2 separate regions of the Homo sapiens genome follow, and region 2 is linked to region 1. Evidence: promoter capture Hi-C in 16 types of primary human blood cells and fetal thymus (Javierre and others, 2016). All regions are on one chromosome and are shown on one strand. Each heading gives the region's core, a stretch centred on a gene start or on the middle of the fragment in contact. The rest is flanking DNA. Distances are from core to core; before and after follow the strand shown.

What was found. Contacts are between HindIII fragments. The CHiCAGO score rates a contact against its expected background, and 5 or more counts as called.
Region 2: a contact is called between the fragment with the promoter of OR9Q1 here and the fragment with the promoter of PRG3 in region 1, in 2 of 17 cell types (non-activated CD4 T cells and fetal thymus). The highest score is 6.8, in non-activated CD4 T cells.

Annotation. Positions count from the first base shown.
Region 1 is chr11:57,379,461-57,383,301 of GRCh38, reverse strand. PRG3 (proteoglycan 3, pro eosinophil major basic protein 2) reads left to right here and starts at 2,152. Exons shown (of 6, transcript NM_006093.4): 1 at 2,152-2,188; 2 at 2,521-2,654; 3 at 3,495-3,808. The coding sequence starts at 2,594. RefSeq lists an enhancer at 2,764-3,841. The HindIII fragment of the contact is 3,099 bases long and covers 1,070-3,841 here.
Region 2 is chr11:58,022,363-58,026,038 of GRCh38, reverse strand. It overlaps OR9Q1 (olfactory receptor family 9 subfamily Q member 1), which reads right to left and starts at 2,158. Exons shown (of 3, transcript NM_001005212.4): 1 at 1,935-2,158. LOC107984331 (a long non-coding RNA gene) reads left to right here and starts at 1,620. Exons shown (of 3, transcript XR_001748218.1): 1 at 1,620-1,952; 2 at 3,015-3,199. The HindIII fragment of the contact is 4,257 bases long and covers 1-3,213 here.

The sequences.
Region 1 (3,841 bases), core at 903-3,402:
GTCGCCCAGGCTGGAGTGCCGTGGCGTGATCTCTGCTCACAGCAGCATCTGCCTCCCGGGTTCAAGTTATTCTTCCACCTCAGTCTCCTGAGTAGCTGGGATTACAGGTGCCCACCACCACGCCCGGCTAATTTTTGTATTTTTAGTAGAGACAGGGTTTCACTGTGTTGGGCAGGCTGGTCTCAAATACCTGACCTCAGGTGATCCACCCGCACATGCCTCCCAAAGTGCTGGAATTACAGGCATGAGCCACCGTGCCCGGTCCTACCAATCTGCACATTTTAATTGACAAGGGTCACCCTCCACTCATGTGCCAGGCATAGTTCTGAGAAGCATCCCACAAGGATGCCTCTGAGTTCACCCTGACAAGTCCACTAGCTCTTGGCAGAGACATCTGGCAAATTCAAGGCTTGAGACATGCTGGCCTCTCTTTAAAGTGCAGCAAATTTTGTCTAGAGCTTGGTCAGTTAAAATTTTGATGTTTTGTTTTGCATTAATTTCAATTTTTAAGAAATGTTGCATTAAAATGTTATTTATCTTGAATAGTAAATTTCTTAGTGTCCCCTTAATTTCTTAGTGTGTCTGAGTTGAGAGCCTCCCCTGCCTGATTCTAGTCCAGACCCTGGGGTGACAGAAGACTGGTGGGAGATGGGAGGTGAGGAGGGGAGTGTTGGTTGGAGAGGATGATCTACAGAGTGCTGGAGAGACTCTGTATGGAGCTTTTCATGCTGCCTGTTTGCCAGCCCTGAAGCTATGCCTTGAGGTTGGGCAAGGTGGCATATCCTAGATCAGAGATCCTCAACTGGGGCCATTTTTCTCCCCAGAGGACATTTGGAAACATGTGGAGACATTTTTGATCATCTGCGGGGGTGGGGAGAGGGGCTACTGACATCTGGTGAGTAGAGACCAGAGGGACCATTAAACTTTCTACAACGCCCAGGACAGCCCCTCCACAATAAAGAGTTATTTGACCTCACATATTAATAGCACAAAGTTGAGGAACCTTGATCTAGATCCACAGCACAGAAGAAAGGATGTAGATTTTTCACACATTAAAGATGAGAAAGCTTGTGCCTGTAATCCCTGTGACTCAGGAGGCTGTGGCAGGAGGATTACTTGAGCCCAGGAATTCAGGGTTACAGTGAACTATCATCGCAGCACTGCACTCCAGCCTGGGTGACAGAGCAAGATTTTGTCTCTTAAAAAAAAAAAAGATGAGGACAGGCACAGTGGCTCATGCCTGTAATCCCAGCATTTTGGGAGGCCGAAGTGGGTGGATCACGAGGTCAGGAGTTCAAGACCAGCCTGGCCAGCATAGTGAAACCCCATCTCTACTAAAAATACAAAAAATTAGCCAGCTACTTGGGAGGCTGAGGCAGGAGAAGCGCTTGAACCCGGGAGGTGGAGCTTGCAGTGAGCCAAAATCTTGCCATTGCACTCCAGCCTGGGCGACAGAGCAAGACTCCGTCTCAAAAAGAAAAAAAAAAAAGATGAGAAAGAGGAAGGGAGAGAAAAAAGAGAGAGAGGAAAGAAAGAGAGAAGGTTTTGGAGTCAAAAAGACTTAGAAATTCCAGTTCTTCCACTTCCCATGGAACCTTGGCAAGTTGCCTTCTCTCTTTCTCTGAATCTCACATTTTGCCTCTGTGAAGTAGGGGTGGTACCTGGTGGAGATGATGCGGAGATGAGGGTGAGGGGTGTGTTGCACACTATGCCCCTAGGATGGGTGAGAGCTTGGGAGCACTGAACCTCCCTTTCCCCTCTTGTTTCTTCCCCCCATTGTCTCCCACCAGCTCCCTGGGATCTCCACTTCACTCTCTGGGATTCCACCAGCAGGAGGCTACTCCTGGAGTTAAGGCGTGTTGTTCAGACTGGGGCATTTTAGGGGGCATAAATAATAATTATGCCTGGACAATGGACATAACATCTAGGGCCTTCTGAAGCAAACCAGGGTGTGGGGTACCCAAACAAGGCAGTAGGCCCCAGGAGGCAGGTCCCTGCAGTCCCAGCAGAGAGCAGGGCACAGGGTTGAGAAGACTGAGCAAACTTCATTATCAGCTCCTTTGTCCCCCACTCTGTCCTGGAGCAATCATTCTGGCCTCTTCCCACTTCCCCAAAAACCCAGTATAAAGGCTGCTTCTGGCCCCTGAAGCCAGAGGCACTGAGAGTGGAGGTCTCAGACTCTTGGAAGGTGAGTTCTTTTCTGGCTGCCCAGGCAGGACCAGTGTAGGCCCTGGGAAGAAGCAGCACCTCATAGGGCAAACACGTAGGAGGCCTGTCCTTAGGAACATCATAGCTAAGCAGACCTGTCCCCGCAGGGGCAGGAGTCTGGGCTAAGGGTGATACTGGAGAGCAGCAACGGAGACTGGAAGACAAATGAAATTTGGTACCTGAGTTATCCCTCCCACCATTCCTTTTCTAGACTCTCCAGCTCAGGGTCTGTTCATGGCAAGAGGAGAAAGCAATCTTGTTTGCTCTTTAATCAAACAATTAAACAAATATTCCCTCTATACTATGTGCCAGGGGCTATACTAGACACACAAAGACAGCCCCAAGAAGGACGGTGGAGTAGTGTCCTCGCTAAAAGACAGTAGATATGCAATGCCTCTTGCTCCTGCCCTTTCTCCTGCTGGGAACAGTTTCTGCTCTTCATCTGGGTAAGTCTCTCCCTTCCCTCCTCATGCGTCTTTCCCTTTTTTCCTTTTTCCTACACTCCCCTCCCCCCGCTTTTATTTGCACTCATGAGGCCAGGACCACAGCCTTCCCTCTTTAGCTGATACAGCTCATCTCCGGTAAGATATCACTTGGACTCAGAACTGTAACCTGGAACTTTCTCTTTTTTGTTTGATTTTTTTTTGTTGTTGTTGTTTTTGTTTTTTTTTTTGTTTGTTTTTTGTTTTGTTTTGAGACGGAGTCTCGCTCTGTTGCCCAGGCTGGAGTGCAGTGGCGCGATCTCGGCTCACCACAAACTCCGCCTCCCGGGTTCAAGCAATTCTTCTGCCTCAGCCTCCTGAGTAGCTGGGACTACAGGCACATGCCACCACGCCTGGCTAATCTTTGTATTTTTAGTAGAGATGGGGTTTCACCATATTTGCCAGGCTGGTCTCAAACTCCTAACCTTGTGATTCGCCCGCCCCGGCCTCCCAAAGTGCTGGGATTACAGGCGTGAGCCACCGCACCCGGCAAACTGTAACCTGAACTTTCAGAAGGAAAAACCACCCACCTGTTAAGATGAAGGGCTGGTGACTGCCCCAGGCTTCTCACACGTGCTTTCTCCCACCTTCAAAACACACACTCGTGGTGTCGGCCAGAAGTCAGGTTCTTGTCCATTTGTGGGTGTGACCCGAGAGATCTCTCCTTACCTAACACCAAGGAAATCCTCCAGTCTTGTCTTCAGGTGGAATTCCTAGGAAAGCTCGAGCGACGTTGCTGGAGCTGTCCACGGTGCTGGAACTAGGAAGCTCTTGACCTGATGGCAGGTTACCTCTTCTTCCCAGAGAATGATGCCCCCCATCTGGAGAGCCTAGAGACACAGGCAGACCTAGGCCAGGATCTGGATAGTTCAAAGGAGCAGGAGAGAGACTTGGCTCTGACGGAGGAGGTGATTCAGGCAGAGGGAGAGGAGGTCAAGGCTTCTGCCTGTCAAGACAACTTTGAGGATGAGGAAGCCATGGAGTCGGACCCAGCTGCCTTAGACAAGGACTTCCAGTGCCCCAGGGAAGAAGACATTGTTGAAGTGCAGGGAAGTCCAAGGTGCAAGATCTGCCGCTACCTATTGGTGCGGACTCCTAAAACTTTTGCAGAAGCTCAGGTAAGTAGTAGGGAGGCTACTGCGGAGGACCTG
Region 2 (3,676 bases), core at 909-3,408, 640 kb before region 1:
GGGGGCAGTGAAGTTGGCATACAAGGAAGACAGGACAGGTAAGATCAAGAAACAATTTCCCAATTAAATCACACTGAGGGTGGGGGACGGTGGAAAGAAGGCAATCCTTAACTGACAAAACCAAGTGCAGTAGAGGGAGGGGGAGGCACCCCAGCAAGCCAGGGGAGAGACAGGTGGAAGTAGGTAATATGCCCAGAGGAATTGTTAGAAGAGGTTGTGAGGTCCACGGAGAGAGTCAGGAGAGCACAGTGGTTAAGGCTACATTCAGGCATTAGACCACCTGATGCCTTCAAATCTCAGCTCCACCACCTTCTAACTGAAATCAAATGAAAGCAACCTAGATGGGAGGCAATGCCTAACCCAACGGAATGAATATCTGATGGAATCATTGAAGTCATCAGAGACAAGTCTAATGAGAAACTCTTTCTGAGCGAGAGTTCCAGAGCATCCAAATTCTACTCCTCTTCCCCCCTGCCCCAACACGTCTTCGGGTCATGTGTTGGTAGGAAGATGAGCTTCTCTCCAAAAAGGGAGAAAGGAGGCCGGGCGCAGTGGCTCACGCCTGCAATCCCAACACCTTGGGAGGCTGAGCGGGCGGATCACAAGGTCAAGAAATCAAGACCATCCTGGCCAACACGGTGAAACCCCGTCTCTACCAAAAATACAAAAAGTAGCTGGTCATGGTGGCGTGCGCCTGTAGGACACACCCTATAGTAGCACGGCGGGCACCCCAGCTACTCAGGAGGCTGAGGCAGGAGAATCTCTTGAACCCGGGAGGCGGAGGTTGCAGTGAGCTGAGATCGCGCCACTGCACTCCAGCCTGGCGACAGGGCAAGACTCCGTCTCAAAAAGAAAGGGTCATTTACGGAGCCCCTCCCATGGGCTAGATTCTGATGGGCTGATACCATCTGGCTTAATCCCCACAATATTGTACTATGATCCTATGAACTATTCTTGATATAGAGGTGTTATTTGTCTTGGTTTTCACGCAATTGAAATCACTGAAGGCTCAGAGAGACAGTAAGTAAACTTGGGCAAGATCAAAGAACTACATGGCACAGAGAAGAGCCAAACCCCAGAGCTTCTGACAAAAAAAGCCTCCACACCGTGCCATTTTCCTCTGCCATCTCATTTCACCCAATGACAACGTGCCTGCAACCCTGGCTCCCTGCCCTGACTCTGAGGTTAATTTCCCTGCAGCTCGGAGCCCCGCCAAGGCTGGAGGAATATCCCACAGGCTCCAGTGAGCTGCAAAGCACAGTCACACTCCCAGGGCTATTAACAGCATCCGCTTCCTCTCCAAGGTTCAGGGAACTTTATCCACCAAGTGCCATGCAGGAAAAAAGAGGTCAGCCAGAGAGGAGAGGGTCACACGGGGCAATCACTAAATAAGGAGAAAGGCCGCACAGGAACTTGGCCCAATTTGGTGTCCTCAAAAGACGGTGCTCCCTGGCCAAGATTTTCCCTAACAAATATGGAAAAACAGTTTGAGGCCCATGCACGAAAATTGAAACTTGGTTCCTGTAGCTATTTGCTTGTGTAGCTACGTGACAAGCCTGGTGAGAAACGCTGGATTTCTCCCTCTTTCAGTTCTCTCCACCTGGCATCTGGGGGCCTAGTCCCAAAAAGTGAAAGGAACTGGAAAATAAACTTACTAAGATCCAGGAAATGATTTCAAAAAAAAACAGCCAACAAACCGAGGTGAGCAGGCGCAGTGGGTGGGTGTTATGAGACAGACAGCGGGGCTAGGAGATGCCCAGGATGAAGCCCGGAGACCTGCTCTCTGATTCCTCTTGGGTCTAGCTCATCACAGCCTGCTTCCCCACTCCCACTGCAACGTGACAGCAACAGCACATCTCACTTTCCAACATGCAGACAGCCCCCTGTGTTAACAGCACCGTCTCTGAAATCAGTGGAGCTGCATTTGACCCTACCTCCGTCAGGCCGTAGCTGTGAGTTTGGGAAAGGCGTTTGATCTTTCTGAGCCTCAGTGTCTTCATCTTCAAACGGGAAGGATAACATGTACATTGCTGGGCTGGACTAAAGATGGAAGGAGACATCATTAAGGGAAAGTTAGGGCCTTTGCTCCTTTCGCTCCCTCTACCATCTCTGTGTGGCATCCTCCTGCACTTCTTCAATTCCCTGCACAAGGGCCACCTTAACAGAGAGGCCCTTTCTGACCACCTATCTGAAAACGCAGTTCCTTTCACTCTCTGACCCTCTTCTCAGTTTGATTTTTTGGGTCACAGCTTCATTGCCATCTGGTAGATATTTATTTGTTTGTCTATAACATCACGCACACACACACACACACACACACAAAAGGAAGCTCCTTGAAGATAGTGCCTTTGTTTGTTTGTTCATTACTGTGTTGCTAATGCCAAAGTCACTGACATGTAGTCTACATGCAATAAATATATACTGATGTAATAAAAGGGTGGCTGCATGCTCCTGATTGTACGTTGGCAGCGTACTTAGTTTCCTTTCCATTTCTAGCTACCTGTTTTTAAGGAAATTTAAGGAAAAGGAAGTTCAACAATACTTACAGAAAAGTCAATCAATTTGGGTGTTGTCCATGCAATTACTGTCAACGGACTACAAGACTGACAATGCCTGCAGGAATGATGTCTTGTATATCTGGAGCAGCCTGCTCTCATGGCCTTGGGTGGGAGGCAAATTGAATTGATTTCTACATATAATTTCTTTTTCTTAGCTACAGAATTTAATTCTAAATTTCCCGGAAAGCTGTACTCTATCAGCTGTTTTCAAACTCTGTTCCACCAAGCCCTAGGTTTGCTTAGTTGCCAGGTAGCTGGGAAGAGGAAAGGACCTAGTATGTGGGGCTCTCAAAATCCCTGCTTCAACCAGCTAGTAAGTGACAGAGTCCAGATGAGAATCCAGCCCAGTCTGACTCCAGAGCCCACCATCTTTCCATCATACCACCTCCCCAGGGAGGGTGATATTCCTAAAATAAAATCTGATCAATTAACTGGGCGCTTCTCTCATTATTCCAGGACTTCAATACTGAGCAGATACAATCTGTTCCTCAAAGCTACTGACATATAGTCTGCCTATGATGGGAACAAATGGGAAACTGAGGTATAAGAAAATAAGTGGGAGGCTTCTCCAGCCATATATGTGACAGAGACCCCAGACCCAAACCAAGCCAGAGAGTCCACTATAGCAGACAGGAACCAAGGTGAGAATCAAGCTTTCTGAGCTTCTAGCTCTTAATCTCTAGGCAGCAATAATATCTATTCTTGTTGTCTCTCAGAACATTCTGTGAATTGATGAGATAGTGGATGTGCGGGTTCTTTGAAACTTTAAAGGTACACTCTGGTAAAACCTGCTTACTCTTTTGCTTCTATTGCTTATGGACTATGCGATGACCACAGAATTTCAATAAAGGGACAGCATGGGAATGGCCATCTGGTGGGACTCTGGGAATGGTCATGAAGCTGCCCTGGAATAACAAAAGCAAATTGATTTTGTTTAGATTGTAGGTTTGAGGTGGCTTGAGGAGGCAGATGGAGATGAAGGAGAACTAAAACCCCACAAAGTCCCTCGGCACCCCTACTCTATAAGAGCTTAAGCAAATCAGTTGAATTCTGTGTGCCTCCATTTTCTCACTTGAAAACTGAATTGATATTTAAAACCACAATGACTCTGTAAAAGA